Linked DNA regions of Homo sapiens: all the other regions are linked to region 2. The links are contacts of gene promoters, found by promoter capture Hi-C in blood cells and fetal thymus (Javierre and others, 2016). All regions are on one chromosome and are shown on one strand. The core of a region is centred on a gene start or on the middle of the fragment in contact, and the rest is flanking DNA. Distances in the headings are between cores, read along the strand shown.

Region 1 (3,568 bases), core at 818-3,317, 330 kb after region 2:
CTTCCAAGACAAGATCTTATCTATGACTTTTTTTATATATTCAAGCTTTCATGGCCATGATACCTTACATAAAAAACTAATTGCAGCACAGTTCACAATAGCTAAGATTTGGAAGCAACCTAAGTGTCCATCAATAGATGACTGGACAAAGAAAATGTGGTACATATATACAATGGAGTACTATTCAGTCATAAGAAAGAATAAGATCCTGTCATTTGCAGCAACATGGATGGAACTGGAGATCATTGTGTTAAGTGAAATGAGCCAGGCACAGAAACACAAACTTCATATGTTCTCACTTATTTGTGGGAGCTAAAAATTAAAATAATTGAACTCATTGAGATAGTAAAAGGATGGTTACCAGAGGCTGGAAAGGGTAGTGGTGGAGTAGGTGGAAATGGGGATGGTTAATCGGTTCAAAAAAATAGGATGAATAAGACTTAGTATTGGCTAGCGCAACAGGGTGACTATAGCAAAAAATAATGTAATTGTACATTTTAAAGTAACTAAAATAATATAAATGGATTGTTTGTAACACAAAGGATAAATGCTTGAGGGGATGGATACCCCATTTACCCTGATGTGATTATTAGGCATTGCATGCCTATATCAAAATATGTCATGTAACCCATAAATATGTATACCTATTATATACCCACGAACATTAAAAATAATTTTTTAAAAAAAATTAATAGGATATTATGTCATTTCCCCCAGGTCTGGCTCAGTAATTCCCCATGAACAATGTAGAGGACGTATTGTCTAGTTAACTTGGTTAAATAAGGACTCAATGAATGGGGAAAAATGTATTTGGAAATTCTTTCCTAAAACTGAAATACCGTGGTCATCCATTCATTAAATAGTCACTGAATTCCTACCATGTCCTGGGAGTGTGCAGTGGTGAACAAGCCAGACATGTGGTCTTTGCTCACATGAAGCCTATGGGGAGACAGGAGATCCAAAAATAAATATACCATTACACGTTGTAATTAATTGAAAATATTTGTGTATACTAGGAGGCAGAGAAAGCCCAGTGTGCTGCCTTACTGTAATTTCCAGTCTCTCCAGAAATAAGAAAGGCACTGCTCCACTGCCTTTTAATTGCAGCTTTTCTATGTTTTTGCATTAGGAGTAATTATGTGCCCTTGACATTTTTGTGCTCAGAGTGCAGCAATCTGCCTAACAAGCATGGCTTGCTTCTCCCTGGACATAACTACTGAGTAATTGGCAGGCAGGCCGGACTGACCTGCGCCACACACAGAGCCAGAGCCCGCTGCCAATGCTTCAGGCCCAAGGGCTGTGCTCCTGGGTGCATAGCACAGAAAAGACTGCCAGGCTGTGTCAATCTTTTTAATCATGCTTACGCATATAGGTTAACCACAGTTATGTAAGCAGGTTCTGAGAAAAGGTGAGAAAGAGAATGGAGAGTTTTGCTACAACAGAGGCAGGATTCTGAATTTATTTCCAGCTGCCCATCTTGTCCCTCCTGGAGACCTAACCCCTCCAGCACCTACACACACAGCCTCTTTAGAAGCAACTATCCTGCCACTGGCTCAGAAAGGCTGAGTCCTAAGAATTCTAAAATCTTGCTCCTAAGAAATCTCAAGCTTCTTTTGTGGTAAGTGGCTTAATGAGACAGGGTAAGTGATAAACAAGAAGAATCATTGTATCATTTTATGTTTTTATCATGTTGTCATTGCACTGGCTAAGTTCATCTTTGATGGTAAAATACTAACGCAAATTGAAGCTGTGATAAAAGGGCTTTCAATATGAAATAGACAAGACATATAATGGAAAGAAATGCTTCCAGAATGGATTTCCATAAAAACGTGGCAAGACTTTCTCAGTGCCATTCTTTAAAATCTCTGCTATTTTTCAACAAATGCCAGATGTTAAAGCATTTGCATAGTATCCCTTGGAGGGTTGGGTGTAAAGACATGCATTAATATCAGGTTAATAGAAAATATCTACAATAACAAAATGTCCACACACAGATGCTCAATAAATGCCATAGCACTTGTTATGACTAATTATTATGAAGTACACGGACCCCTTTTCATATCAAATAATTTACTAGACCCTCACTTATAGATCTTGTACTCCTACTTGGTTGAGAATGTATCAAAATAACTAAAAATGTCACTGTGAATTTCATTAAATCTTGTATAAAGATCGAAATGTAGGCCTCCAGCTGTGAAATTTAGAATCTCATCTTTTACTAGCCTTGACCAGCTGTGAGTGAAATGCCAGATCAAAGTTTATTTTTCATAAATATTTAAGTAATGTCACAATTAGCAATGCTATTCTAGATAATTATTTAATTTCACTACATATTATAAACTGAAAATCTATGAAAAAAATTATATACTAATTTAATTGTCTTGGGAAATATAATAGAAATGGACCATAGTTTGACATTAGATGTTTTGGTATTAGGTTTGTGCAAAAATAATTGCTTTTAATGGCAAAACTGCAATTACTTTTGCACCACCCTAATGGTTCATATGACATCACCAACAATCATCCAGAAAGCTTCATATTAATCTTAAATGAATTGTTGCCATTAACAAAGCTTTCTTCTCTGAGATTCAGCTGGAGAAGTTCATTTTGGAAAACATTTAAAACTGTTATGCACATGAATCTCTGAAAAGATATGAAGCTCTGGCAAAAAAATAAATGAAGGCTAAAAACAGAGGGAAACAATTTCCCAGTGCAAAAGATTTTCTATTATTTTCATTATTATTCCTTAGATGTTTTGGCTGAAGATACAAAAAGAAAAACAAATAGATATGTTTTCCTCAAAAACCATCACTTTATTTTTGTGCCACGGTTTTTGTTTAAAATAAGATGACAGAGAAGAAAATTATAGAGATAAAATCAATTGTAGTAACCAAAAAAAAAAAAAAAAATCAGTTTTAGTAACCAAAGGAAATCAGTCTGTATTTCCAAAACCTTTGTGTGAGAGCCCATCAGTGTGGTTGGCAGATGTTTTACAAACACTTAGGGAATCTGTCATGAACTTTAAAGACCAAGAGAGCTTTTTCTGTTTGCCAGGAAATCTAGGAAAACAAAGGAAAATTAAACCCATTAGCCTAGTTTAACATCATGTGCTTCCCCCACTCGCCCCTCCCCTCATAGCCAGGGCTTACACAAACACACTGAATGGTACTTACGTTCCTTAGGTATTACCAGTTGGCCCCGTTTCAAGGCTTTAAAAAAGCCTCATCACTATGCACCCAACGTTAACACTCAAAGCCCCGCAGGGCTGTATCTTGGACGGCTGTTGCTACTGAGTGTGATTCTCAGCAGATGAAATGCTAGCAGCAGCAGCAGCAGCATCTATGAACTGCCTTATAATAAACTGCAACTTGGCTGCACTTAGTCATCACCAGGGCCACGCGCTGATGCGTGAACTCCACCCTCAGAGACTCTGATTTCATTGGTCTGGGAGTGGCCTGGACATCAGGATCTTTTCCTTTTTTTTAAAAAAAAATAATAATAATTATAATCCACAAGATTTTCCTAATGGTTACATCTCACACCATGAAATTGACTTTGGTAAAATGTG
Region 2 (3,247 bases), core at 415-2,914:
TCTCATCTCTAGCTGCTGCCCAGACTTGCCTCCTGGGATCGAGGAGAGTATATCTGTCTAATCAACATCTCTGCTTGGATTCCCATCTATCCTCAAAATTTATCCCAAACCAAACGTTTTATCTTTATCTCTCTTGCCTTCCCTACTGAATTATGCCGATTTAAAACTTTTAAAGTCGGCCGGGCGTAGTGGCTCACGCCTTTAACCCCAGCACTTTGGGAGGCCAAGGAGGGTGGATCACCTGAGGTCAGGAGTTCGAGACCAGCCTCGCCAACATGGCAGAACCCCGTCTCTACTAAAAATACGAAAAAATTAGCTGGGCATGGTGGCGCACGCCTGTAATCCCAGCTACTCTGGAGGGTAAGGAAGGAGAAATAGCTTGAACCCGGGAGGCGGAAGTTGCAGTGAGCTGAGATCACACCATTGCACTCCAGCCTGGGCAACAAGAGCAAAACTCCGTCTCAGGAAAAAAAACTTTAAAGTCATTCACATTCGTCTGCTTCGTTCCATTCTCACCACCTATGCACTGGTCCAGTACCATTTCTTAAAAAGATGACAACATCTTCCAGCTCCAACCCTCTTCTCCAAACCTAGCCAGAGATCTTTGCAACATGCACATCTCGCCATGTCACTCCTCTGCTTACATGAGCTATTGTCGGCAACGGGATTACAGTGGCTTAGGAGTCAGACACACTTGGGTTTCAGTCTTAACACCATAACTTATTGGCTGCAAAACCGTGGGTGAGTTAATTTCTCTATATCTTAGTTTTCTCATTTGAAAAAAAAAAAAAAAAGAGCCACGAAGAGCACCTCCCACAGGTCTCCCCCAGGGTTGAGACCATACACACCATGTCCTTGGTTCAGAGTCAGGCACATTTGAACTGTTTAATACATTTTAACTGCTATTTTTATTAAACCCTTTCAATCGAGGCAAATCAACCTCTTTCATCCTAAAATGTGGGGATTAGATGGAATGACTTTAATCAACTCTTTTGAGACAAGACACCTTTGGACCCTGAAGCCTCCCTGGGTGCTGGCCACCCCTCCGGGGAGGAGGCATCCGTGGGTGCAGCTGGTACTCCTGCATGAGGACCCAGAGGGTCAGGGTCGGGGACTCCTTCTGCTGCAGGACAGCGCTGACCCCAGGCTTCTTACCCGCCCCCGACCTGTTACCCGGCGACAGTCCCCGCCGCCCCGTCGCCGGGCACAGACTCAGCCGATCCACAGCCATGAGTGCGAAGCCTCTCAGGCAGGGCAGGCAGGCAAACCGCAAACCCACAGGGCGCACCCAGCCCCGCCGCTTCCTCCCGGGCCTCGCCCGCAGCTGGAGGAGAGAGGAAGGAGGAGGCGGCGGGCAGCGGGCAGCGCCCACCCCATCCCACCCCATCCCACCCCACCCGACCCCGCGGGCCCGGCCGCCCGAGCCCGGCCCCAGCCCTGACCCCGGAGTCCCGGTCGCTCACCTTGAAGGACATCCTGCACATGTCCGCGGCCGCCCGAGCGGGAGCCGGCGCGCTTTGGGCCCGGGGCGCCTTGTCCTCCCCGGCCCTTCACTCTCCCGGGGCTCTCGGCGTTCCGCAGAGGGGCGGCCTCCGACGCCGCGCGCTCCCGCCGCCCGGCCCGGCAGCAGCCGCCGCACACAGGGCCGGGCCGAAGGGGCGGCGCGGGGGCGCGCGCGCGCGCACACTACACATGGGGTGTCGCGTGGACGCGCTCCAGGACCTGCCACACACGCGCGTGCACAAACACCCCAAACTCCGCACGCACTGTGCACTTTCCACACACGTCCACACTTCCACACTCACTCGTCCACACACACACTCCAAACTCCACACACATTGTGCATACGCTCCACATTCCACACACACAGAGGTTCCACACACATACTTTCCACACTCACGCCCACTCACCCGCATGTACTCACACACAAACTCCATACATATCCTCCCAAATAGACTGGTCTGCCCCAGAGGACTCCCAACCTTCATTACAGCACAAATATTATAATGATGTAAAAATGAAGCTTGAGGAAAAAATTCATCCAATAGCTATTTTCGTTATAATTTCTTTCTCGGTTTCCTGGGAAACTTTTTTCTCCTGGGGAAAATATCTAGGAAACAAACCTTTTGATTGCACAAACAATAAGTGGTCTTTTCCTCTTTGAAGGGCAAAGGCCAATTTTGGAATAGACTCATACCCCTCCTCCTCCTCCGCGTTATTAATCCAGCAGTTCCCTCCTCCTCTGGGTCTGATGCTGCAGCCCTGGAGTATTGCAGTATGTGTGTCCACTCCTGCTGCCTGCCCAGGATTGGTTTGGGCGAAGTAAAACTGGGAGTTTTAAGTATAAACGGCAACAACAGCTCTTTGAGAGCATTTTAGAAAAGTGAAAGTAAAAAAGTAGCCCAGGCATAGTGGCTCACGCCTATAATCCCAACTCTTTGGGAGGCCAAAGGCGGGCAGATCACTTGAGTCCAGGAGTTCGAGATCAGACTGGCCAACATGGCAAAACTCTATCTCTACTAAAAATACAAAAATTAGCCAGGCGTGGTGGTGCGCACCTGTAGTCCCAGCTACTCGGGAGGCTGAGGTGGGAGGATCGCTTGAACCTGGGAGGTTGAGGCTGCAGTGAGCCAAGATTCGGTCACTGCACTCCAGCCTGGGCAACAGAGCAAGACTCTGCCTCAAAAATAAAAATAAAAACAAAACAAAAAAATAGTATAAAAATGGAGGTCTTACCCCCTCAAACTATAAGAATCCACTCATTCATTCTCCCCCTCCTTCCCTCTTCTCAATTAAATTTGTAACGAATATTTAATTTAAAAGGTAGAAAACAATTACAAATAAAAGTTAATGATAAAAATTAAAATGTTTAACCTTCATGGATAAATTGTATTACTTTGTGCTTAAAACAACTTTAAATTAAAAACATTCTGAACTTTTATAGAAAATTCCAATTTTAAAAATAAGGACTCTAAACATTTTCCTTGCCTTGAGTGCCTATAAATGACACAGTTTTTAAGTTGCCACACAACGTTATTATATAAAAATCAAGCATCAGAGGTTTTGCTTTAATAGTTTTTTGTTTGTTTGTTTGTTTTTTCTTCTCAGATGGAGTTTCGCTCTTTTGCCCAGGCTGAAGTGAAGTGGCATGATCCTGGCTCACTGCAACCTCCACCCCCCGGGTTCAAGCAATTCTCCTGCCTCAGCCTCTCGAGTAGCTGGTATTATAGGCTCCTGTCACCGTGCC
Region 3 (3,402 bases), core at 112-2,611, 490 kb after region 2:
GTGCTCATCGGGGAGGCTCGGGCCGCACAGGAGTCCACGGAGTGGGTGGGAGGCTCAGGCATGGCGGGCTGCAGGTCCCGAGCCCTGCCCCGCAGGAAGGCAGCTAAGGCCCGGCGAGAAATCAAGCACAGCGCCGGTGGGCTGGCACTGCTGGGGGACCCAGTACACCCTATGCAGCCACTGGCCTGGGTGCTAAGCCCCTCATTGCCCGGGGCTGGCAGGGCCGGCCCGCTGCTCGGAATGCGGGGCCCGCCAAGCCCATGCCCACTCGGAACTCCAGCTGGCCCGCAAGCGCGGCGCGCAGCCCCGGTTCCCGCTGGCGCCTCTCCCTCCACACCTGCCTGCAAGCTGAGGGAGCCGGCTCTGGCCTTGGCCAGCCCAGAAAGGGGCTCCCACAGTGCAGCGGTGGGCTGAAGGGCTCAAGTGCCGCCAAAGTGGGAGCCCAGGCAGAGGAGGCGCCAAGAGCGAGCAAGGGCTCTGAGGACTGCAGCACGCTGTCACTTCTCAATGGGGTGAGGGAGACAGAAATAGACCCGGAAGAGAAGAGGGAAGGACAAAGCCAAAGAGATGCCAAACTGCATTTGGTGTTGCTCACTGTGGCCCAGAGAAGTTTGATGGCAGTGCTGGAGAACCAAGAGGAGAAGCAAGGCAAAGGGGCATGGCGTGGGAGAGATTACCTAGGATAGGCTGAATGGCTGTTCTCCCTCAAACTGGCCATGCCCTCTTTTGCTTTCCACCTCCTACAGTCCAAATTACTAGCCACTTTCACACGTTTTCCTTATTTCTAAAGCTTAACCAAAATTACCTAAAAGCCACTGTACCCCATACATATTTCAGTCACTGTGCTGACTACATTGTCATATAATCAATCATCTGCCTGTATCCTTAATCAGAATGAGATCTTTAGGAAGTCTTATTCCTCTTTGATAGATGGTGCAACTAATGTTTGTTGAATGAAGAAAGAATGGATGGAAGGGCAAGGAGGAAGAGGGGAGAAACTAAACCACCTACTTTATAGTCTCTGGTATTCTCATTCCAATCAGTTCAATACAGACTAGTTGGAATCTTTTGTTTTAAATTCTTAAAAGATTACGTACCATACATATTCCTGACTTTAAGCACTCTCTTTGAGCTTCCCACCTCCCACCTCCAGTTTTTTTGTTTTTTTGTTTTTTGTTTTTTTTTTTTTTTGAGACGGAGTCTCACTCTGGCCCCAGGCTGGAGTGCAGTAGTGAGATCTCAGCTCACTGCAAGCTCCGCCTCCCGGGTTCACGCCATTCTCCTGCCTCAGCCTCCCGAATAGCTGGGACTACAGGCGCCCGCCACCACGCCCGGCTAATTTTTTGTATTTTTAGTAGAGACAGGGTTTCACCGTGTTAGCCAGGATGGCCCACCTCCAATTCTTATACAGCCTCTCGTATCTCTTGTTAGGCCCTGCTGCTTATACACTTGTGGTCTTTGATACCTTTCAGATTTCCCATTCCATGCCAGAATATGTCCTTTTCCTTATGCTTCTTGGGCAGTTATGTACTTCAGTACCCTGAATCTCCATGAGTTGTGCCTATTTAAAAAAATACCATATGCTTGGAATTTATCTCTTTATCTTACTGGTTTCATGGAAAATCAGGATTCTGCAATGAATTTTAAAGTTAGCCAATTTGAGTCATTTTATTATACTTAAAAAGGAACTTTTTTACAAGAAGGAATGCCTTTAGTTATGTTCCTAATTCTCAGTGTGTATAGTTTTGTCAGCTTAAGTAGAACCAGATCACCAAAGTCATAGTGGGTTAATCTTCATAAGGTTGAAAGATCAACCTTTAGCAAACCTAGTTTGCAACTTGAAGAAATTCTGTCTTATACAACCGACATAATCTCAAGGTTACAAGTCAGCGACTGTTGTAAGTATTTAAAGCTAACCTTAAAACATTAGAGAAAAGCTTTTTACCCTTCTTAATAAACAGATAATGACATGAACTCAATATAGATTTACATTATATGTGTATAGTAACTAGTAAGTATATATTTGCCAGCATTCTTTCATGTATTCCAAACAAAGCCAAATGGTTGATCTAGTGTTGGCTTTTTTTTTTTTTTTTTTTAAAGACAGAGTCTAGCTTTGTTGCCCAAGCTGGAGTGCAGTGGCACAATCTCAGCTCACTGCAACCTCTACCTCCCGGGCTCAAGCAATTCTCCTGCCTCAGCTTCCTGAGTACCTGGGATTACAGGCATGTGCCACTGTGTCTGGCTTATTTTTGTATTTTTAGTAGAGACAGAATTTCACTATGTTGGCTGGGCTGGTCTCGAACTCCTGGCCTCAAGTGATCTGCCTGCCTCAGCCTCCCAAAGTGCTGGGATTATACGCATGAGCCATCGTGCCTGACCTAGTGTTTGCATTTGCAAAAACACTATAAAAGTTTAAGGCATCTGGTCTCAGTTTTTAATTATGAAAAAGTCCATAAGTATATAACACACACATATAAAGAAAAAACATCCTGTATTTTACCACCCAGTTTAGGAAATAGCCAATTTAATTTTAATCAAAGCTGAATTAAAGATATTTGAGATTTATATTTTTAATTTGATATCACATTTTCAAAACTTTTCTGTATCACTTTTTAAATGGGTACTGATTCACTCCTTCCCCATTTATATGTGATTTAGAGTTTATTCAGTGCTTTCAGATGCATTATTTCACTTAGTGTCCACAGAAACTCCATGAAGTCAGAGTTATAATCCCCATTTTGCAAGTGAGGAGGCCTGAAGCTTGGAACAGTTGACTTGGTCATGCAGCTATTAAATCTCAGAACCAGGACTAGAACCTAGGTTTTCTCATTAACTTTTTTACTATGAGAAAGTTGCAGGGAAGAAAACAATATCATACATTCCCTGGTAAATTGTTAAGGATTCATAATTATAAATGCTTTACCTTTCCAGAATGGTGGTTATAAGGGATGTTTTTGTTTAGCAGGGGACTTCCAGAGACAAAAATATTGAGCTTTTTTAACATTTAAAAAATTAATTACATTTTAATCTTCTAGACGTAATTTCAGGTACCATGAACCTGTGAGGGAGACACTTTTAATTAAAAGAGCAAGTGGTCCTTTCCAGAGTTGCCTAAGTCATACCACAAGCAACCTGTCAGGTCCCGTGCAGGCAGTCTAGGGATTGCAGTAATCCAATCCCTAGATTGGCTGCATTCTTGATAAACGCTCATGGTAAGTAAATCAGTGGTTGGAGAATTTAAGACCTAATGGGGGAAAATAGGGAGGCCTTGAATTGGTGTGGGTATGGGGAGGTCAGTCTGGTTAGGAGTTGGACTTGGGTTTTATTGTTGCTTTCATTACCTTCACTGTACTACAGGCCTCAAAACCTTCTAGAAGGCTGCCAAGACCTTTTGCCTGA
Region 4 (3,344 bases), core at 103-2,602, 410 kb after region 2:
AGGCTGGAGATCATAGCTCACTTCAGCCTTGAGGTCCCAGGTTCAAGTGATCCTCTTGCCTCAGCCTCCTGAGTAGCTGGGACTACAGGCATGTACCACCACACCTGGCTAATTTTTTAAAAATTTTTTGTAGAGATAGGGGTCTCACTATGCTGCCCAGGCAGGTCTTGAACTCCTGGGCTCAAGCAATCCTTCCGCCTTGTCCTCCCAAAGTGTGGGGATTACAGGTGTGAGCCACCATGCCCAGCCAATCTGGCCTTTGTTGTGCTATTACTTATACCCTGTACATCACCATTTACTGCAGGTATCACATAGCAATACTCATATTTATTTACATGTCTGCCTAAAGTATTAGGCTACATACCCCTTGAGGGCAGGGACTGTGCAATCTACCTGCTGTTTTACCTCTTCCCCACATATGTTGAGCATTTCCTATGTGCCCACATGCTGTGAGATGATAGGTGCTGGTAGTCTTGAGATGAATGAGATGCACTTCATGCCCTGGGAGAACTCATGGTTTGGCAGTAGGAACAAATAAGTAAGTAAATAAATTCTAATTCAGCAGGATACTTCAGCCATAGACATATAAGTTAGTTATAGAGGTTGAATAGGGAACAAGTGTTTCTGAATCTTTGGGAAGATCAAGGATCCCTTATCCCTGAGGAGGTTTATAAAGCATGAAGGTCCGTTTCCTTCTCTGTGTCCTTAGAACCTGGTAGGACGTTTTTGCCTAGAACATGGTGGGTGGATACTAAAATCCATTCATGCCTAGTGTTCCATTATTGGAACGCTAAGCATGTGGGAGTTATTTATATCCTACGGTTCAAGGTCATTGCCAAGATCTGATTGCAAAAATTCACAAATTTGCAACCTCAGGCATAATTAAAGGGAGGAAATGGAGGAAAGGTAATGCCATTCAGGAAGATATTGGGATTGGAGAAGTGAGCCTATTAGAAGTCTGTTGGTGACACATGAAAAAATGCTCATCATCACCGGCCATCAGAGAAATGCAGATCAAAATCACAATGAGATACCATCTCACATAAGTTAGAATGGTGATCGTTAAAAAGTCAGGAAACAACAGGTGCTGGAGAGGATGTGGAGAAATAGGAACACTTTTACACTGTTGGTGGGACGGTAAACTAGTTCAACCATTGTGGAAGACAGTGTGGCGACTCCTCAGGGATCTAGAACTAGAAATACCATTTGACCTAGCCATCTCATTACTGGGTATATACCCAGAGGATTATAAATCATGCTGCTATAAAGACACATGCACATGTATGTTTATTGCGGCACTATTCACAATAGCAAAGACTTGGAACCAACCCAAATATCCATCAATGATAGACTGGATAAAGAAAATGTGGCACATATACACCATGGAATACTATGCAGCCATAAAAAAGGATGAGTTCATGTCCTTTGTAGGGACATGGATGAAGCTGGAAACCATCATTCTGAGCAAACTATTGTAAGGACAGAAAACTAAACACGCATGTTCTCACTTATAGGTTAGAATTGAACAATGAGAACACTTGGACACAGGGTGGGGAACATCACACACCGGGGCCTGTCGTGGGGTGGGGGGAGTGGGGAGGGTTGGCATTAAGAGAAATACCTAATGTAAATGACAAGTTAATGGGTGCAGCACACCAACATGGCACATGTATACATACGTAACAAACCTGCACATTGTGCACATGTACGCTAGAACTTAAAGTATAATTAAAAAAAAAAAAGTCTGTTGGTGAAGGTTGAAGATAACGAGGCAGTGGGCTGACTGGTGAAAACTAAATCATCTTTTGTCCTTCAAAGTCTTGGGCCAGGAACAGTGGCTCACACCTGTGCACGGTGGCTCCTAGCACTTTGGGAGGCCGAAGTGGGTGGATTGCTTGAGTCTAGGAGTTTGAGACCAGCCTGGGCAACATGGCAAAACCCATCTCTACTAAAAATACAAAAAATCAGCCAGGCTTGGTGGCGTGTGCCTGTAGTCCCAGCTACTCAGGAGGCTGAGGTGGAAGAATCACCTGAGCTTGGGAGGTCGGGGCTGCAGTAAGGTGAGATAGTGCCACTGCACTGCAGCCTGAGCAATCCAAGTGAGACCTTGTCTCAAAAAAAAAAAAAAAAAAACAAAAAAAAAACCTCTATTATTTGAGACACAAGAAAGGCAAGCCTGAATTGCCATGGGTTAACCAGCCTCCTTCCGGGACAGTTGGACAGACAGGCTTTAATAGATGCTTGCACCAGATACAGTCCCCCTGAAAAATTACAAAATTTATCCAAGATCAATTTCATGTAACTTGATATTCCCATTTTGCAAGCAGCTCTTGCCCTTTCCCAGGGAAGACTTCTGTCCCCGTATGGGGCAGGGTTTCCTCTCGCCCCCTCCATCTCTCAGCTAGTTGTTGCCTGGTCCTCATAAGGTGGGACAGATTGTCTGTTGCCCAGGCTGGAGTGCAGTGGCACAATCTTGGGTCACTACAACCTCCACCTCCTGGTTTCATGCTATTCTCCTGCCTCAGCCTCCTGAGTAGCTGGAACTACAGGCACCTGCCACCAAGCCCGGCTAATTTTTTTGTATTTTTTAGTAGAGACAGGGTTTCACCATGTTGGCCAGGCTGGTTTTGAACTCCTGACCTCAAGTGATCTGCCTGCCTCAGCCTCCAAAAGTGCTGGGATTACAGGCATGAGCCACCGCGCCCGGCCTGCTCTGTGGTTTTTCTGCTGTCTCCACCTCCCTCCACAGACACAGCGATAACGACAGCTGAATGATTCATACTTGACCTTTCAGAGCAGCCAGATGAAAGGCTGTGCAGGGTGTATGGCTCTTAAATAGCGTGTTCTCTGCTTGTTGGGAAGACATGCACTCAGCTGCTGTGTCCTCTCATGGAGCTGCTGGAGCGGCCCCTGTAGGAGCCACAGTGCAGAGCGTCCTGTTCTCGGTGCTGCATTCTCCCCCAGCCTCTGCCTCCTCCTGCTTGGCCTGGCTGTGGCTGGAATTTTTGCTTTACAGAGTGTGGGATGGAGAGTAGGGCAAGTCCCGAGAACCTGTTTCAGTGCCAAGTTGGACGCAGAATGTAGTAAAAGCAACATGGCCTCTCTCGACATGAGCATTAAGTTTGTTTTGACATACATCAGTTTATCATCTTTGACTCAGTCAAAAACGTTGGGTTCTGTTTCCTTGGCTCAAATTAAGGACCTTACAGCTTGTTACCATAGACTTTAACATGTGCCTTCAGACATTGGCACCCATCTTAGGCACAAAATTAAAGACGGATTGAATTCATTGTATTCTTATTCTAGAAGAGTGGGGTTTTCACCGTGGAGGTTTCTGTTGTGTT
Region 5 (3,423 bases), core at 183-2,682, 290 kb after region 2:
TAACCACATCTATACAGAAATTGAATGTTCTCCTGGAGAGGTAGCGAGGTCCCCATCATAGGAGTATTCAACAGAGGCTGGGTGGTGGTCCTTAGGGATGCCATGTTGGGTTGGAGGTTAAACTACATGACTCTAAGCTATGTGCTTTCTTGAAATATTGATTTTAAAATGAAAAATTCACCAGGTGATGACCAGCCAGGAACTGAGTCTGCAAGAGGATCATCCATTTTAACACCTGCCTTTGGCAGGTCTACACTAAGCCGGTGGTTCTCTCTTCTGGGTCCCCAGTGTTAACCTCACTGAATCTAAGGAGTTATTCACTGGTGCCGATTATTTGTTAGCACTTCCTAGATTCATTAGAAAGGGGTAATGACCAGGTGTGGTGGCTCACACCTGTAATCCCAGCACTTTGGGAGGCCAAGGCAGGAGAATTGCTTGAGGCCAGGAGTTTGAGACCAGCCTGGGCAACATAGCAAGACCCTGTCTCTACAAAACAATAAAAAAAAATTAGCTGGGCTTGGTGGCACATGCCTGTAGTCCCAGATACTCTGGAGGTCGAGGTGGGAGGATCACTTGAGCCCAGGAGGTTGAGGCTGCAGTGAACTAGGATCACCCCACTGTACTCCAGCCTGTGTCTAAAAAAGCAAAAGAAAAACAAAAAGAAAGGGCTAGTTTATTCCTCACTGACTAATACCGATGGTTTTCCCCCATTTCGTAAAAGCTTGAAGAACAGCCACCTATCTGCCCTTGCTGAATACAGTTCCAGCCACCAGAAAGCAGCAGAGAGAGTCACAGATGAAATTACAGCTGAGGAAAAAGAACACCCTCAGTGTGGCTATTTGCAGATTGTAAATATGTGTTTCCTGAAAAGAATGTCTAGAGCTCCTTGACTGAACTTTCATGAGAATTGTTTGTGAACTATCAAATGCTATACAAATATTGTCACTGGTATGCTCTTCCTGGCTCATAGGCACACACAAATTGGGCCGACCTTGTGAGGAGAGTCTCGGGAGGGACAGCAGGATCTCTGGTAGACAACACTGACCAGTTCACGATGGGTCCACCATTGTTCCATCTTCGTTCAGTGGATTGGGGACTGGAAACAGTGCATCTCCCTGGGCAGCAGGCACTTCAGGGGCACCAAGTAACTGTAAAGCAATCGTGGGTCTGCACGGGCCTGCCTTCTTCAGCATCCCTCCAGGTGCTGGCTGACCTCACTCCTTAATACGTACAGTTATTGAGTTTTTGCCGTGCTCATAATATCCCTGTACCAGAGGACAGCAGCCCCGGACAGAACTCACTGACCTTCCCTTCTCCCAGGCAGGATGTGGTCCCACTTCCCCACAGAGAACTTGAACTCAGCTCCTTTCTCTACTCTCCCCAACCCCCAAAACTGCTGCACTGAAAACCCCTCACACCTCAGCGTCTGCCAGCCACTCTAACTCTTCTCTTCCGGTTCCCCAGTTCTCTTTTTACTAATTCCAACTTGGGCAGGTCAGTGGTAGCCCCCGAAAGGTCTTATTCTTCCTTTGGAATGAGGACTTACAGTCAGCATATGGGTAGAAAAAAATTTAAAATAACCTTTTTTTATTGAATATCAGTGGTATGTGTGTTCGTTATGGAAAAATTGGAATATGCAGAGAGGCATTAAAATCACCTAGAATCTCACCACTCCGAAATCTGTTTGTATATAGTTATATGTTCATTAGTCTTTTAATTCACATGTATTTTTTTACAAAAATCATGATGATACCATATATATTGTTTTTATATGGTTTTGCAAAGTCTATTGTGTTTCCTAGGTCTTTAACTGTAGAGCATTTTATTCTATCAGATGAATTTACCGTAATGTATTTAACCACCCTCCAATTATTCAGTAAATGGGGTTTTTTCTCTTTTCTTTTTTTTTCTTTTTGCAATTACAAGCAACACTAAAATGAAGATATCATGGGATATAAATTTATTTATTTTCTTAAGGTAAATTCTTAGAACTAACACTATCAGGTCAAAGGATATAAACATTTTAACGATTGTTATTAGCTATTACCAAATTGTTCCCCCAAAAGTTTATATCTGTATCTGTTTACACTCAGAATCATTTTAAGTTTGCCTTAATCCCTAATGCCACTGAATATGAACCCACCAAAGCTTGCCGATGGTCTTCAAGATGGGCAGCAGACATTTACATTCATGCAAGCCAGCTTGTAGAGGTCCACCCTGATCCAGGCTGATCTGAGCCAAAATCCCATCACCTGGAACAGGTGGTCAGCTGGTGGGTGTTTAGCTCTGAGGGGCGATCCTGCAAAACACCTTAGGAGAGGGGGCAGCCTGATGCTGAGCCCTGCAGAACTGGAGCTGGGCCACGGACGCAGCCAGGTTTTCAGAATGCATCACACTCGAGAACACCAAACCGGTGCCAAGCCTGGGCCGTGCTCCCAGAAAGGGTTGGAATAATGTGCTGAACTCTCTTCGCAGCACTGGGCCTCAGTGATCGGTCCAGCCAGCCGGCTTCACCCTCCTCCACCTTGGAAGTTTGCTTTCATTGTGAGTGAAACTTTCATAAGAATTCTCTCAGGCAGGATTACCAGGATTTCACTTGGGAAAAACTCGAGACCCCATCCCTCCCACCACCCTGCCCAACAGAGAAATCCGAAGCAGAAACTTCTTGTTGTATATAACTACATACAAACTTTTTTTTTTTAAACGTGGATGATATAATAGCAGTGGTAGAAAGGGATGGATTTCTTGTTTTCAGTTTCTTCTTTTGCCAAACAATATAGCTTAATTCTTCAGCATAGAAATTCCAGCACAATGTCTGCGTAGCTGGGAATAGAAAGCAGAGATGAAATCGGGGATATCCTTGTTAATCATCCTCAGGGCAAGGAACGTAATTCTCCCAAAGTAGAGGGACAGGGGCCTGAGATGGTGAATGCTATTGACTGGAAATGTCTTTTCTGCCTCGCTCATAAAGACTTGTATGACCCCAGTATATAAAGTGTAACTTTCCATTTCCAGAAGATTTCTTTCTCCATACATTTTGAATGTGTGGTTTATTTTACTCTACATTGAGCCCTTGATAAAATGAGAATTGGGAGTTTCAGAGGGCAGAGGGCCGGAACTTTCTGCAGCACTTGAGTCTTGCGAATGCACACAGGTCACACAGCAGCACACACTTACTGATTAAATCATCACTTGCTCAAAAGGCTTTTGCATATTAACCACTAACTTTAATCGTTTCACACTCAGGGAGCATGCATTTCTAAACAGTTAGCATGGAGCTGTGTGGCGGAGCTGCAGCTTGGCATGGTGTCCATTCGAAAGGCACATCTCGGAAGGTATTTACTATTCCTGTAGGAAATATGCTTCCTTACACATAAAGGTTATATTCTGGAAAACAGGTGGTTGAGCATAGCTAGTATTCAA
Region 6 (3,445 bases), core at 97-2,596, 460 kb after region 2:
GAAGGGGGAACTAGCCAGGCACAGTGGCTCACACCTGTAATCCCAGCACTTTGGGAGGCTGAGGCAGGCATATCACGAGTACAAGAGGCCAATATGGTGAAACCCCATCTCTATTAAAAACACAAAAATTAGCTGGGCATGGTGGCATGTGCCTGTAGTCCCAGCTACTCAGGAGGCTGAGGCAGGAGAATTGCTTGAACCCAGGAGGCGGAGGTTGCAGTGAGCCGAGATCACGCCACTGCACTCCTGCCTGGTGACAGAGCAAGACTCCATCTCAAAAAAAAAAAAAAAAAAAAGAAGAGGGAACTAGCAAGTCAACTTTAGTGCATTCCAACTGGGGAGTGAAAAACCACATGTGATCTAACAAAATTGAATAGAAATGGATTCCGCAGCATCAGAGTTGGGAGGAAAGGATGGAGTTGTGGTAAAGTTTCAAGCAGTAGTGGGGCTGCAGCCAGTGCAAAGTTTGCATAAGGGACAGAGAAGACACAGCAAAGGGAGGATCATTAAATCTTTGGGGCCTGAGGTGAGAAGAAGGTGTGCACATGATCATGATCAAAATCTCACTCATTCCTCAAGACTCCGCTCGACTTCTCCTAGCTCCTTACAGCGTCTGGTCACTCCAGAGAGAAATGATCCCTTCTCTTTCTGAGCCTTCTGAAAACCACTTTGGTTCTCCTACCCTGACTACTCCTATCACTACATACATTGCAGCTTGTGGGACCCTATGTGCGTGTGTGAGCATGTGTGATCTTTTCAATTGTAATTTCAGTTTCTTTAGGATTCAAGCACATGTGTTTCTTCTTCACATTGTTGCTGGTGGCTTATAGGTAGTAGGCAGCCAAGGAACTTGGACAGGACAGATTGATGACTTCCTAGGACAGAGAACTCCTCCTTCTACCACGAAGCTTTCATGATCCTCGGGGCTCTTCATTGTTCTTTCCTGGGTTCCTATTTATTCCACTTTGAGTATGTGAGCCCTAACTAGGTTGTACACTGTGACAGTAGCTAAGGATTTTGTTATGTGAAAAACTGTCTCCCCAACAAGAGGACAAGGACCATGGCTTTCCCCAGGTCCCCCAAAAGCTCTGGGAACACAGGAACCTGGGAAATAGTTGAAGGACTGCAGGACGGTGCAGTCCTTTGTGGAACAGTCTTTTTTTTGTTTGTTTGTTTGTTTGTTTGTTTGTTTGTTTTTCTGAGACAGAGTCTCATTCTGTCGCCCAGGCTGGAGTGCAGTGGTGCGATCTCGGCTCATTGCAACCTCTGCCTCCTAAGTTCAAGCGATTCTCCTGCCTTAGCCTCGCAAGTAGCTGGGATTACAGGCATGTGCCACCACGCCTGGCTTATTTTTGTGTTTTTAGCAGAGATGGGGTTTCGCCATGTTGGCCAGGCTGGTCTCGAATTCCTGACCTCAGGTGATCCACTCGCCTCTGCCTTCCAAAGTGCTGGGATTACTGACATGAACCACCATGTCCAGCCCATTGTGGAATAGTCTTTAAACATATTTGCTCCTGCTTTTTTTTTTTTCAAGTATCATCACTTCAGGTATCCCTTATGGCATTTTCCCTGACTTGTACTTAAGAAATATAATTATGGTTTCTTACAGTTTGTCAGGGAGCCACTGGTGATGTGGATGGGGCACAGATTGTCTTTAAAGAAGTTCAGAAACTCTTCAAAAGGAAAAACAATCAGATTGAACAGTTCTCGGTGAAAAAGGTATGTTGGAGCCTATTGATCTGGTGTATTACTTATGATGGGCATTTGTAACCAACACTGCCTTGGCAAGCTTTAGGAAATTATATTCAAGGCTGCCTATTTACTTGCCACATAAAGTGCAGTTCACCGCCATGCAGAGGATTCTCTCCATGATTGTACATCTGCTCTGAATAGAAGATTCTTGCCTTGCTGCAAATAATGAAAGCAGATTTTTAAAAAATCGATGAGTCCTGCAGATACAGGGCCTCAAAAAATTGGGTTAAGACTCAGAGTGGTTCCCCTTCATGGAAATCTTTAGCAAAAGGTGAAAGATATATATGATCTGAAGGGTAACTGGAGTATAGTTTTTTTTTAAATTTTAATGAATGGAGACTATACGTTCTGCAGAGCTAATGAACACACCTCTAGAGAGAAAGGATCTGTCTAAAGAATTGGGTGGTTTTGGAAGAATACAAATTGGCAGGACCTAGTGAGAAATGCAGGCTGTCTGGGGTTGAGAATAGAGAACACATCACATTTTGATGTAATAAAAAGCAAATGTGTGTGTCACAGTGTCACAGTTGCCAGCAGAAAGGCCCAAGACTGTAGAGACAGTATTCCTATGTATTCTGTACTTCTGTGAATACAATGTTGCCGTATTACCTTGAGTTATGTAGTGTCTTATATCCTGAATTATCAGTTATTTTAGTTTTATATGTTTTTATTGAATGAACATTTAATGAAGCTTTTGAGTATAAATTTGATTATAATGTACAGCAGAGAGCACTGGCACTCAGTAGAAAATTTTAAAATCAAGAGAACTGTGACTAAAAGGCATCTAGTCTTAGTTCCTTAGGTGTGTGTAAGCCCGTTGAATTATTAGCTGTCACCAAGCTTTATAAATTCTGTCACTCTAAATGCATGTAAATCTAGTTTCATCCCCAAGTTTTCAGAATATACACTGCGTCTTTTTTTGTTTTTGTTTTTGAGACGGAGTTTTGCTCTCATTGCTCAGGCTGGAGTGCAATGGCGTAATCTTGGCTCACCGCAACCTCCGCCTCCCAGGTTCAAGCAATTCTTCTGCCTCAGCCTCCCGAGTAGCTGGGATTACAGGCATGTGCCACCATACCCGGCTAATTTTGTATTTTTAGTAGAGACGGGGTTTCTCCATGCTGGTCAGGCTGGTCTCAAACTCCTGACCTCAGGTGATCTGCCTGCCTTGGCCTCCCAAAGTGCTGGGATTACAGGCGTGAGCCACCATGCCTGGCCCCACCCTGCATTTTGATAGTAGGTTCAGTTGAATAATGAATGAAAGGCATAATTTCCAGTCTGTCAAAAATTGAAAGCAACATTTTTTATAGAGAGAAGAATTGTTATTCTTAGCTTTGAAGGAGAGGGTCATTCACATTGATGATGAACTGTGTGCTTTTAAAGTGTCTGAGGTATATTTTTTATTTGAATTTGTTTTTGAAAAATGTAGCCTGTTTATTCTGACTCCTTGCAGGCAGAGCGATTTCGGAAGCAAACCCCAACCAAAGCGCTCTGTGTGTTGGCGTCTATTGAAGTGTTGTACTTGTGGAAAGCTCTTCCAAACTGTTCCTTCCCCAACCTGCAGAGGATGAGTCAAGGTAAAAAATTTAAAAAAACCCAAAACTGTCTACTGGACACACTGGCTTCTTCTGTCAGTGCGGCATTCTTCAGTTTCCCGTTTATTTCATGTTTATCTCATCGGAGTCAGGGAGAGTAC
Region 7 (3,532 bases), core at 45-2,544, 440 kb after region 2:
TAGTCCTCTTCAATTAGGGCATGAACAAGATTAATATTTTCTTTGCAAATCTGTGTAGATGGTCTGCCACCATGGGCTTCATCTTCAACATCGTCTTGGCCCTTCGTAAACTTATACATTTGCAAACTGCTGATTTCTTTGGGGAATTATTCCTATAAACTTTTTGTAAAGTGTCAGTGATTTCACCATTCTTTCACCCAAGCTTCACCATAGGTTTTATGTTTGTTCTTGCTTCCATTTAAATGCAGAATTTATGTTGCTCTGATAGGGGCTCTTTTCAAGTTGATGTCTTATGCTTCTTAGTGCCTCAAACTAGATCCTGCTCAGACATGTTATAGCAAGTTAGTATGGGCTTATTTTGGTGTAAAAAAATTTGAAATTCATGCATAGTTTTATTATAATGCACATTTTCTATGACCATTTTGAAGACCCTGCCTATGTCTTAAATAAAACAAGAATATCATGATTGCCTTTTAAATATATATTATATTATTTTTTATCCACTTGTTCTCTCACATATATACATAACTATCAGTTTCTCAGGTTCTCTGTTAATGGGAAATTTAAATTGATACTATGTTTATAATATTTCTTATCAGTCACTGAGGATATGTCTTCATTTAGTCATGTCACCTTTTATTTCTCCCATTTTGACTATAAAATTTTTGCATATGTCTGTCCTGTCGTATATAGCAAGCAGGGGTCCAGATGAGATAAGTACTTTGTGAAAGTGTACATAGTTATTTTAGGATTAAGGAAGACCTAGAATTCAGGCTTTCTTTCTTTCCTTTCTTTTCCTTCCCTCCCTCCCTCCCTCCCTCCCTCCCTCCCTCCTTCCTTCCTTCCTCCTTTCCTTTCTTTCCTTTCTCCTTTCCTTTCCTTTCTTTTCTCCTCTCCCTTCCCTCTCCTCTCCTATCCTCTCCTCTCCCCTCCCCTCCCGTCCCCTCCCCTCCCCTCCCCTCCCCTCTCCTCTCCTCTCCTCTCCCTTTCTTGCTTTCTTTTCCTCTCTCCCTCCCTTTCTTTCTTCTTTTCTCTTCTCTTCTGTTTGTCTCTTTTTCATCTCTTTTTAGATGGAGTCTCGCTCTATCACCCAGGCTGGAGTGCAGTGGTGCGTTCTTGGTTCATTGCAACCTCTGCCTCCCGGTTCAAGCAATTCTCCTGCCTCAGCCTCCTGAGTAGCTGGGAGTACAGGTGCCCAACACCACACCTGGCTAATTTTTGTATTCTTAGTAGAGACGGGGTTTTGCCATGTTGGCCAGGCTGGTATCGAACTCCTGACCTCAAGTGATCCTCCTGCCTTGGCCTCCCAAAGTGCTGGGATTACAGGCATGAGTCACTGCGCCCAGCCCAGGCTTTCTTTTTTTAATCGAGTGTTTTTTCTAGTATATCCCACTGCTTTTATTTGCTAATAAGTTAGAGGAATGTGTGTGTGTGTGTGTGTGTGTGTGTGTGTATATATATATCTATACACGTATATACATATAACATATATACATATATATAACATATATACATATATATATATAAAACGTGTGTGTGTGTGTGTGTGTGTGTGTGTGTATGTGTGTGTCTTAGTTTGGGCTGCTATAAAAGAATACTATAGATTGGGTGACTAAAACAACACACTTTTATTTCTCACAGTTCTGGAGGCATGAGATCCAGGTGCCAGAAGATTGGGTGTCTAGTGAGGACCATGTCCTGGTTCATAGATGATGGCTTCTCACTGTGTCCTCAGATGGTGGAAAGGGGGCTAGAGAGCACTCAGGGGTCTCTTTTATGAGGGCACAAATTGCATTCATGAGGGCTCCACCCTCATGATCTGATTACCTCACAAAACTCCCACCTCCTAATACAGTTCCAGTGAGGGTTAGGATTTCATGTATCAATTTTGTGAGGCAGGAGCATTCCATAACAATGTTATATATAATATATAACTGATATATGTAACTTAGCAATTAATATATATATGTATGTATTTAAATGTGAATATAAATATTTCTGGGACTTGTGTTTACTAGGCTTTAGGAATAGACCTGATTTGTTTTTAATGATTTGGCTAAAAGCGTATCTTTTTTATATGCTTTCTTATATCTCCATATTTTGGAGAAACAGATCACTTAAAGTAATTAAACTGCCATTAAACATTGGAAGGAGTTCTTATGTAACTTACTGCTGTGAAATTCCCTTTTGAAATCAGTTTTTTAATAACTTCCCTTATTTCTTCTGTAATGTTAATATATATTTACTTATATCCATTTTAGTTTTATATTATAGTTTTCCATTTCTAGTTATTACTTTCCAAACATATAACTTAATACTAGTTTCAGATCTGTAAAAATGTGATATTATTTTATTAGACTAATTTGTGTTTTCTTAATTTTATGATTAAGCTTTTGGATTATCATATTGGTTTTGAGAGAGAGAGATTGATTTTTTTAATCAACTCATTTTAAAATTTCCATCGTTTCTAGTTTCCCTTAACTTAGCTTGTTTTACAGTTTTTCTTAATAGTTTATCATAACACATTTGTTGTATTAGAATAGTTGGATATTTGTGTTCTGGGATTAGGGATTTGATCACATTCAGGGTGTTTAGGGAGCCTGAAGGTTTTATTAAATGTTCATTGTGATGTGTCTTAATTATCTGATTATGATTATGATTCATCTTACATCCTTTAATAACCTGTGTGGAAGGCCTACTCTGAGTCTGTGGCCCTTGTCCTCCGCCTGGCAGAAGCTCAGGGTTTAGGGCTCACCCCTGGAGGCCACTGTTGGGATGAATCCTGGCCCCTCCACTCTGGCCGAGTGACCTTGGCCCTTCACCTCTTTAAGCCTTGCTTCCCTCCTCAGTGAGATGGGGATCCCAGTGGTATCTTGGCCCAGTTTAGCTGTTAGGATTCAGTGAGGCAACCCAGGAGGCGTGTGCAGCACAAGGCTTGGAGTGAGTGCCCAGTCGTTGGCTGTAATGACAGTGGCACTGCAGTGTGACTCTTCTTAGGGTTGTGGCCAGAGTGGAGGGCATTTATTGACATAGGGCTTCCGAGCTTCAGTTTTTAGTGTGTGGCATTGTAGAGAGAACATTGGACTAGAAGTCTGTGGATCTGGTTTCTAGCTTTGGCTCTGCCATAAACAGTAAAAATTATTTCCTAATGGTTGCTTTCACGTCAGGCAGTTTGAAAGAGGTGGGAGACCTCAAGCCAGTGGACCTTCTCTGGTGTTCTTTTTATTCACCAGGAATGTTAGAGGGTTGGAATAAGTCAGGGTTTTCTGAAGCACCAGCCCAGTCTCACTGATTTGATGGCCTGTTAGTACATGTCCCATGAAAAGAGGTTCTGTGTTGGGTTAATTGGGATATCCTGGGACTTCTCCCAGGCTTTAGTTTTGCACTGTGATTCTCCAAGGGGAAGATAAGAATATGCAGGTATGCTATGTTTAACCAGCTTATTTGACCAGGAAAATTCCTATTTATACTGTAGCCTGTGAGACTGGAAGCGTTCGGTAGAACATACTTTGGGAAGCAGTAGGCTAGATAA

The links. The method cuts DNA at HindIII sites, captures the fragments that hold promoters and counts their contacts. A CHiCAGO score of 5 or more calls a contact.
Region 1: a contact is called between a fragment that was not itself captured here and the fragment with the promoter of ANKRD29 in region 2, in 1 of 17 cell types (M1 macrophages). The highest score is 7.3, in M1 macrophages.
Region 3: a fragment that was not itself captured here is called in contact with the fragment with the promoter of ANKRD29 in region 2 in 4 of 17 cell types (total CD4 T cells, total B cells, activated CD4 T cells and 1 more); the score reaches 5.7 in total CD4 T cells.
Region 4: a contact is called between a fragment that was not itself captured here and the fragment with the promoter of ANKRD29 in region 2, in 1 of 17 cell types (total CD8 T cells). The highest score is 5.1, in total CD8 T cells.
Region 5: a fragment that was not itself captured here is called in contact with the fragment with the promoter of ANKRD29 in region 2 in 1 of 17 cell types (M1 macrophages); the score reaches 5.1 in M1 macrophages.
Region 6: a fragment that was not itself captured here is called in contact with the fragment with the promoter of ANKRD29 in region 2 in 8 of 17 cell types (total CD8 T cells, naive CD4 T cells, M0 macrophages and 5 more); the score reaches 7.9 in total CD8 T cells.
Region 7: a contact is called between a fragment that was not itself captured here and the fragment with the promoter of ANKRD29 in region 2, in 7 of 17 cell types (naive B cells, M2 macrophages, naive CD4 T cells and 4 more). The highest score is 6.8, in naive B cells.

Annotation. Positions count from the first base shown.
Region 1 is chr18:23,991,421-23,994,988 of GRCh38, forward strand. TTC39C-AS1 (TTC39C antisense RNA 1) reads right to left here. Exons shown (of 6, transcript NR_110796.1): 6 at 2,793-3,059. It also overlaps a transcript of TTC39C not described here. Among named protein-coding and RNA genes, the nearest start is that of LINC02958, 11 kb to the left of the region's middle. RefSeq lists a silencer at 3,085-3,144. The HindIII fragment of the contact is 925 bases long and covers 1,606-2,530 here.
Region 2 is chr18:23,661,247-23,664,493 of GRCh38, forward strand. ANKRD29 (ankyrin repeat domain 29) reads right to left here and starts at 1,665. Exons shown (of 10, transcript NM_173505.4): 1 at 1,464-1,665. The coding sequence starts at 1,484. The HindIII fragment of the contact is 8,557 bases long and covers 1-2,021 here.
Region 3 is chr18:24,149,608-24,153,009 of GRCh38, forward strand. All of the region lies in intron 3 of CABYR (calcium binding tyrosine phosphorylation regulated), which reads left to right. Among named protein-coding and RNA genes, the nearest start is that of CABYR, 12 kb to the left of the region's middle. The HindIII fragment of the contact is 1,147 bases long and covers 789-1,935 here.
Region 4 is chr18:24,073,571-24,076,914 of GRCh38, forward strand. All of the region lies in intron 4 of TTC39C (tetratricopeptide repeat domain 39C), which reads left to right. Among named protein-coding and RNA genes, the nearest start is that of TTC39C-AS1, 60 kb to the left of the region's middle. RefSeq lists an enhancer at 2,675-2,969. The HindIII fragment of the contact is 4,610 bases long and covers 1-3,344 here.
Region 5 is chr18:23,955,809-23,959,231 of GRCh38, forward strand. It overlaps LINC02958 (long intergenic non-protein coding RNA 2958), which reads right to left. Exons shown (of 2, transcript NR_199650.1): 2 at 1,946-2,823. Among named protein-coding and RNA genes, the nearest start is that of LINC02958, 25 kb to the right of the region's middle. The HindIII fragment of the contact is 1,427 bases long and covers 720-2,146 here.
Region 6 is chr18:24,122,225-24,125,669 of GRCh38, forward strand. It overlaps TTC39C (tetratricopeptide repeat domain 39C), which reads left to right. Exons shown (of 14, transcript NM_001135993.2): 9 at 1,610-1,719; 10 at 3,203-3,326. It also overlaps the pseudogene RNU5A-6P. Among named protein-coding and RNA genes, the nearest start is that of CABYR, 15 kb to the right of the region's middle. The HindIII fragment of the contact is 881 bases long and covers 907-1,787 here.
Region 7 is chr18:24,097,584-24,101,115 of GRCh38, forward strand. The region is part of intron 6 of TTC39C (tetratricopeptide repeat domain 39C); the gene reads left to right. Among named protein-coding and RNA genes, the nearest start is that of CABYR, 40 kb to the right of the region's middle. The HindIII fragment of the contact is 2,188 bases long and covers 201-2,388 here.